Regions from separate parts of the Homo sapiens genome. Here region 2 is linked to region 1. Evidence: promoter capture Hi-C in human tissues and cell types (Jung and others, 2019). All regions are on one chromosome and are shown on one strand. The core of a region is centred on a gene start or on the middle of the fragment in contact, and the rest is flanking DNA. Distances in the headings are between cores, read along the strand shown. Region 1 holds the start of FAM180A (family with sequence similarity 180 member A). Region 2 overlaps CHRM2 (cholinergic receptor muscarinic 2).

What was found. The method cuts DNA at HindIII sites, captures the fragments that hold promoters and counts their contacts. A contact is called where the count stands out against the background at its distance.
Region 2: a fragment that was not itself captured here is called in contact with the fragment with the promoter of FAM180A in region 1 in 1 of the 25 tissues and cell types used here (mesenchymal stem cells).

The regions. Positions count from the first base shown.
Region 1 is chr7:135,746,820-135,750,513 of GRCh38, reverse strand. It overlaps FAM180A (family with sequence similarity 180 member A), which reads left to right and starts at 1,701. Exons shown (of 4, transcript NM_205855.4): 1 at 1,701-2,009. The coding sequence starts at 1,934. The HindIII fragment of the contact is 9,123 bases long and covers 1-3,694 here.
Region 2 is chr7:136,930,664-136,934,357 of GRCh38, reverse strand. All of the region lies in intron 2 of CHRM2 (cholinergic receptor muscarinic 2), which reads right to left. The region is part of intron 2 of LOC349160 (a long non-coding RNA gene); the gene reads left to right. Among named protein-coding and RNA genes, the nearest start is that of MIR490, 29 kb to the right of the region's middle. The HindIII fragment of the contact is 4,485 bases long and covers 1-3,694 here.

The sequences.
Region 1 (3,694 bases), core at 452-2,951:
CACCACAACCTTCACCTCGCAGGCTCAAGAGACTCTCCTGCCTCAGCCTCTCGAGTAGCTGGGATTACAGGTGTGCACCACCATGCCCGGCTAATTTTTGTATTTTTAGGAGAGACGAGGTTTTGCCATGTTGGCCAGGCTGGTCACGAACTCCTGACCTCAGGTGATCCGCCTGCCTCGGCCTCCCAAAGTGCTAGGATTACAGGCGTGAGCCACTGCACCCAGCCTCTTTTTACTTTTTTTTAGTATGAGTTGTAGAAAATGTTAAGTGACGTTTGTGATTCACGTTACATTTCTGTTGGAGAGTGCTGCTGGCTAGTGCCCTAACCTCCTAGTTCGGTGGATGCATTAAATCAGTTAATGCAAGGAGGGCACCTAGCACGCTGTCTGAAGCAAATTAAGCACCTAATAGCTATTATTAATATTAGTGAGCGTACTGGTTTTCAAATGTTGTAGTCTAGTATTTTTTCCCCCAAAAAAACTGGTTGTTTTTTTTTTAATTTTTTTAAGAGGAAAGTTCTTACTCTGTCACCCAGGCTGGAGTAGAGTGTTGTGATCATAGCTCACTGCAGCCTTGAACTCCTGGGCCTAAACAATCCTTCTGCCTCAGCCACCTGAGTGACTAGGACTACAGGCACATGCCACCACGCCCAGCTAATTTTTTAATTTTTTGTAGAGACAGGGTCTATTTTCTCTAGGTTGGTCTTGAACTTCTGGCCTCAAGCAATTCCCCCACTTCGGCCTCCCAAAGTGTTGGGATTACAGGCGTGAACCACCATGCCCGGCTCCCAAACAACTTCTTATAGCAGATAAAAGAGGAGCTTTTGCAGTAGAGTAGAGCTTTGAGGAGCCCTCTTGGGGAGCCCATTCACCCTGGGCACCACCTCCACAAACTGGAAAACCCACAGGATGACATAATCTTTAAGTGTCCTTCAAGCTTTAGCATTCCCTATCATTTCAGAGAAGTTGAGGAAGTGATTGGGAAAGAATTAAGGTGTCTATGGCAGTATATTACAACGACTATGGAAAAACACTCCCATTTTGCTTGGGAAAATCAAAGTGGCTTGGCCCCAGGTCTAGGCACAGCCCAGAAATGGGAGCATCACCAATGTGAGTTGTGGGGCTTGGCCCCAGGTCTAGGCACAGCCCAGAAATGGGAGCATCACCAATGTGAGTTGGGGGTCCCCGTGGGCTCCTGGATCATTACCTACGCACGTTCACACAGACAATACCGATGCACCATGTCACCTCTCCACTTCGGCTCGGTCACAACCTGCCAACTCCCCACCCACCCAGAACCTGGGCAGACCAGACACAGGCTCTAGGCGCCAATGTCCTAGTCTAGCTCCAGGGCCAGGCAACAGTGACACTCAGCCCAGGCACCACAATGATTTTGCTGTCCTGAAGGCAACTTAGGCTCAACCAGCCCTGGTGTCTGCCAGGCAGGCTCCCAACTCTGCCTCCAGCCCTCGCCCCTGGCTCTGGTATCGTATGTGTGGACGGGGAGAGCAGCCAACTCTTCGCCGGGCTCTCTAACAAGTTCCGCGGGTCTGTTTGTTAAAGAAAAATTCCAGTGGGTGCATCCAACACATGGAACTCAAGTACAGAAATTATATTTATCCGCCCCACTGCCAAGGAGATCACATGCCCCGTGAGTCACTCCAGATGTGCTCAAAAACAGAGTCTCTCTGTGGAAGGCCAGTTCCCCAATCCCAGAGAGCGTCAAATGAAGAGAGGTACCGACTCCTGTCCCACCCAGGACGCAGCCTTCAGCCTCCAGCCTTCTGAGGCAGAGTAGGCATTTCTGCACGTCTGCAAAAGGAAGGGAGGGAAGCACTCCATCATCTCACTGGGAAGAACGGCACGGGCATACCTGCAGCTACTGGGGTTCCACTGGGCTTGAGGGTCGATTTTTCACCTTTTGAAGGACAAGATGCATTGGAAGATGTTGCTGCTTCTGCTGTTGTATTACAATGCTGAGGCTTCTATGTGCCACAGGTGGAGCAGGGGTGAGTTGCTTTTTATTCATTTGTTTGTTTGATGCTCATTATACTTTCTTCAATGCAATTCAAAATTTGGAGGGAAGGACATTAGAAGCCCCGCACTCTCCTTTTGTCTAATCTCTGTCAATTCCTTGATGCTTCTTGACGTGTTCCCCCTTCTTAGAGGGTGATGGGGAAATGACACTGGAAAAAATCAAAGCTCCTGAGGGAATTAGGTTGAGGTGGAGAACCCAGAGAGTACCCCTTTCTGGCATCCCAGAGAGAACTCATTTCTGCTTCATAGAAAGTAGAACTCATTTCTTCGACTGCCCCCACCACCTGCAGCAGTTGGGCCAGACCGTCTGGAGAGCAGGTGCTGAGACCTGCTGCTAAAATGATGGAGTGATGGGCACTGGGATGCCAAAGGCCTGCTCCCTGGGGGAACCAGAGCAGAAGCTCTGCAGAACGTTGCCTCCTCACCGGGAGGGGATGCATCTCTGCAGCCAGAGGTGGGCAGGTGAGGAGAGCAACCCTTCAACCTCCACTGCACCCACCAGCTCCGCCACCTCCTCACAAAGGAAGGGGCCCCAGCAAAGGCTGTTCTCTTATCACTGACTTCCTCCCCCTCAGGATGTAGTTCCTCCTAGCTGGATGGCATCTTTTCTCCATTTCCCTGGGAGTGGCTCTGCTTGGTAGACACTGGGAGCACCTCGAGCCAGAGTTTATCACTGTTAGGAAAGGAGGGACCCACGGCACTGCCCACTCTTCACCAATATGAACGGAAATCTTTCCACTGCCTAAAGTCAACTGAGTTCACTCTCCTAGAAAGAACCGCAAGAAGAACAGGCTCCTTCAAGTCAGGCCAGTAGGTGTTTCTAGAGATGCAAAATTGGAAGGCAACTGGCATGGTGGCATGGATGCGCCTCCTGCTTGCTTCTCAAGGACAGTGTCAGGGAAGGAAGGAGTGGCCGGAGTGGGGATAGAGCAGCGCGAGAGAAGGATCTGAAATGGGAGGGAGGCAAAAGCTACTGTACTTATGCTGGGTTTTATTTCCTCATGGTTAAACGTGACATTAGGGACTTACATCTCTAACAGGGATATAAGTCTTTTGAGCTGAGCTGTGAAGTGATCGTTGCCCAGAAACAAATAATACAGCATTCTTCATTTTTCTCATAACAACCTTGCATACACATGCACATACACACGTACACCCCTCCCTTTTCTTTTTTTAATTTTTAATTTTTAATTTCTGTGGGCACATAGTAGGTATACATATTTATGGGGCCTATGAGATGTTTTGATACAGGCACGTCACATCATGGAAGATGGGGTATCCATCCCCTCAAGCATTTAGCCTTTGTGTTACAAACAATCCAGTGATACCCTTTTAGTTACTTTTATTTGTTATTTATTTACTTATTTATTTATTTTTGAGACGGAGTCTCACTCTGTTGCCCAGGCTGGAATGCAGGGGTGCAATCTTGGTTCACTGCAACCTCCGCCTCCCAGGTTCAAGCGATTCTCGTGCCTCAGTCTCCTGAGTAGCTGGAGTTACAGGTGCGCACCACCACGCCTGGCTAATTTTTGTATTTTTAGTAGAGATGGGGTTTCACCATGTTGGCCAGGCTGCTCTCAAACTCCTGACCTCAAGTGATCTGCCCACCTCAGCCTCCCAAAGTTCTGGGATTATAGGCATGAGCCATAGTGCCTGG
Region 2 (3,694 bases), core at 840-3,339, 1.2 Mb before region 1:
ATCTCTGTGGACATAAGAATAAAAAATAGAAAATAGATGTTAGGTACTATCCAGGAAGAGACTGACTTACCACAGTGTTCAAGAGAAGGAAGAACAAGAGAGGGAAGAATCTAAAAGGACTCAAATTTAAGCTTTGGTGACTAGAAAAATAATGGTATTGACAGAGAAATATAAAATTCCATAGGAGAAATTGCTTGGGGCTTTGGTTTCCTGACTTATTTGCAATTTTTAAAAATTAAGACCATCCTATTCACAAACCATCAAAAACCATCCTATTCACTTGCTTAAATATCTACAACTCATTGATTTCTTAGTACAGTCACAGAGCTATACAATTGTCTCCATAATCAATGTCAGAACATTTTTTACCATCTTCTGAAAAAACAAAACCAAACAAAAACAGAACAAAAATCTCATACTCATTAGCCGTTACTTGCAATTTTCCCAAACTCACAAACCCTACTCAACCACCATTCTACTTTCCATCTCTGTAGATTTGCCTATTCTGGAATTCAGTATAAATAGAACTATATGGTGTGTTGTCCTTTGTGATGGACTTCTTTCACCTAGACTACTGTTGTCAAGAATTACCTCATATATAAGTGCTGTATTCTTTTTTATTGGTGAATAATATTCCATTTTATGGAAATATCACATTTTGTTTATCTATTCATCAGTTAATAAAAATCTGAGTTATTTCCACTTTTTGATTATTATAAAGAGTACTGCTGTGAACATTCATGTACAAACATTTTATAGATGTATATTTTCATTTTACTAGAAGGAGAATTGTTGAGTCATGTTGGTGACTCTATATTTAAATTTTTGAAGAAATACCAAAATATTTTCCAAAGTGGCTGCAACTTTATTCATTCTTATCAACAACGTAAATGGTTCAATTTTCTCCACATCCTTGACAACACTTGATATTATCTTTTTGATTATAGCTCTCCTGGTGTGTATGAAATAATATCTCAGTGTGATTTTCATTAATATTTCCCTAATGGCAAATGATGCTGATCATCATTGTTGCTTATAATTATTCAAATATGCTTAATAACCATTTGTTTATCTCCTTTGGAGAAATGTCTGTTCCGATCATTTGCCCATCTTTTAATTGGATTACTTTTCTTTAGTAAGCTGTAAGAGTTTCTTTAGAAGTTGTGAGATACAGCTTCCTTGAAAGATATATGATTTGCAAATATTTTTGTCCATTGAGCGACTGTTCAATTTGTTTTGAAGTAAAAAATGTTTTTAACTTTGTAGGAGACCAATTTATCTATTTAAAAAAATTATTTATTTATTTATGTATTTATTTATTTATTTTTGAAACAGAGTCTTGCTCTGTCACCCAGACTGAAGTGCAGTGGCACAATCTGGGCCCACTGCAACCTCTGCCTCCCAGGTTTAAGTGATTCTCCTGCCTCAGCCTCCTGAGTAGCTGGGACTACAGGTGCACGCCACCATGCCCAGCTAATTTTGGTATTTTTAGTATAGACCAGGTTTCGCCATGTTGGCCAGGTTGGTCTTGAACTCCTGACCTCAAGTGATCCACCTGCCTCGGCCTCCCAAAGTGCTGCGATTATCGGTATGAGTCACCATACCCAGCCTAAAAATCTATTTAAATGTCATATCCAATAAATCAGACTAACTCAAGGTCAAGAAAATGCATTATCCTGTTTTCCTCTTTATTAATATAATTTTAACTCCCATATTTATATCTATGATCCATTTTAGTTTGTTTTAATGTATAATGTAAGGTAGTTGTATGAATTTATTATTTTGCATGTGGATATCCAGCTGTTGTGGCACAATTGTTGAGAAGATTAATCTTTCCCCAGTGAATTATGATGACATCTTTGTCAAAATCACTTAACCATAAATGTAAGGTTTTATTCTGTCTGACTAGAAAAGATTGGGTAGGGTACGCTCCACTTCTGTTTTGTCAAAGATTTGATATAGGATTGATACAAAGTCTTCTTTTAAGCATTTAGAAGAATTCACCAGTGAAGCCATTTTTGTCCTCATTTGAGCTTTATGAGGGAAGTTTTCAAATTACTAATTCACTCTCTTTACTATGTCTATTTCCATTTTGTTTCCTCCTTAGTCAGTTTCATTAGTTTGTGTGTTTCTAAGATTTTGTCCGTTTTATTTATGTAACCTACCTGGTTGACAAACAGTTGTGCGCTGTATTCCCTTATAGTCCTTTTTATTTCTGTAATATCCATAATGTAAATTTTGAATCAGATTATTATTTTTGTTTTTGTTATTATCATTATCCCACCAAATACAACCTACACAGATCACTAGTAAATAAAATAGGTACAGAGAGAGTTTTCCAAAAATCTCAGAAGTTTGGCCCCCTTGTCCTTTGTGCTGGTTTCTAAGGCAACCTTAATTAAAACCCACGACTACACAGAATATAACTGAAAGTTCCTTGTGTTGCACAAAACATTATACATTTGTTTATCTCTGATCAATCTACTGAATTTTAGGTGTATTCTAGATATTCTTGTTTGGGAAACTGGATATCTGGATTCAAAGTGTATTTTTCAGTCACCTCTCTGGAAGTAAAAATTGAAGCAATACGTGAAGGAGTTAAGAAGAGAAATGCAGTCTTCAAAGGGACAGATCAGGGAGGCAAGTCTGGACAGTGTATGGCAGGTCAGCAAAGCCAAAGGAGAGTACTATACAGGAGTGTCCAGGAGTGGACAACATCACAGAGATAACAGTTCACAATTTTGAAAGGATCTTTGGATTTCATGATGGGGGAGGTGCTGGTAACTGTTTCAGTACATTATGGTGCTTTGTGTGATCTGCAGTCAACTGTCACCAATTGTAAGTATCTGTCCTTTGGAATGTGCATTACGTGGCTTCCTCAGTACCCAAAGGTATCTTCATAGCTCCAGGAGGTTCTTCTCATTTCTATGTGCTGTCTTAAGCTGCTTCTGCCACTTTGAGGCTTGGGGCTCGCCACTTTAGGAATCAAAATCTTTATCACTTAACTGCTATACTTAGGGCATTATCTCTCCCTGGGTTTCAGCTGTTCCTGCTGTGCATTTGCTGGAACACAAATCTCTATCTGTCTTTGTGCCCAAAGTAGTTTCACCAAATAGAACATTAGAGAAATGTTATTTCCCCAACATACCTAAATTATCTTATCAAAAAAGGCATAGTTTTGAACATGTTTCTATCTGTTATTTACACTCACTTCCAAAAAGATTCTGAAGATGTTTATAAACAATAACTGTGCACATATCTAAGCCATTGAAAACTAGAACGAATCAAAATAATCCTAGTAGTAAGGAGATAATCGTACCAGAAAACTTAGGATAGAATAATTCCTGTTCCTGTGACTGACATCCTTTTAAACCCTAAAACTATTACAGATAGAGCAAAGAGGTAATATGTGGTAAGGATCTTTCTATCCTTTTTTTTTTTTTTTTTTTTTTTTTTTTTGAGAGAATGAGTCTGGCTCTGTAGCCCAGGCTGGAGTGCAGTGGCGCAGTCTCGGCTCACTGCAAACTCCGCCTCCCAGGTTCACGCCATTCTCCTGCCTCAGCCTCCTGAGTAGCTGGGACTACAGGTGCCCGCCACCACAACTGGCTGATTTTTTGTATTTTTAGTAGAGACGGGGTTTCACCGTGTTAACCACGATGGTCTCGATTTCCTGACCTCGTGATCCACCCTCCTT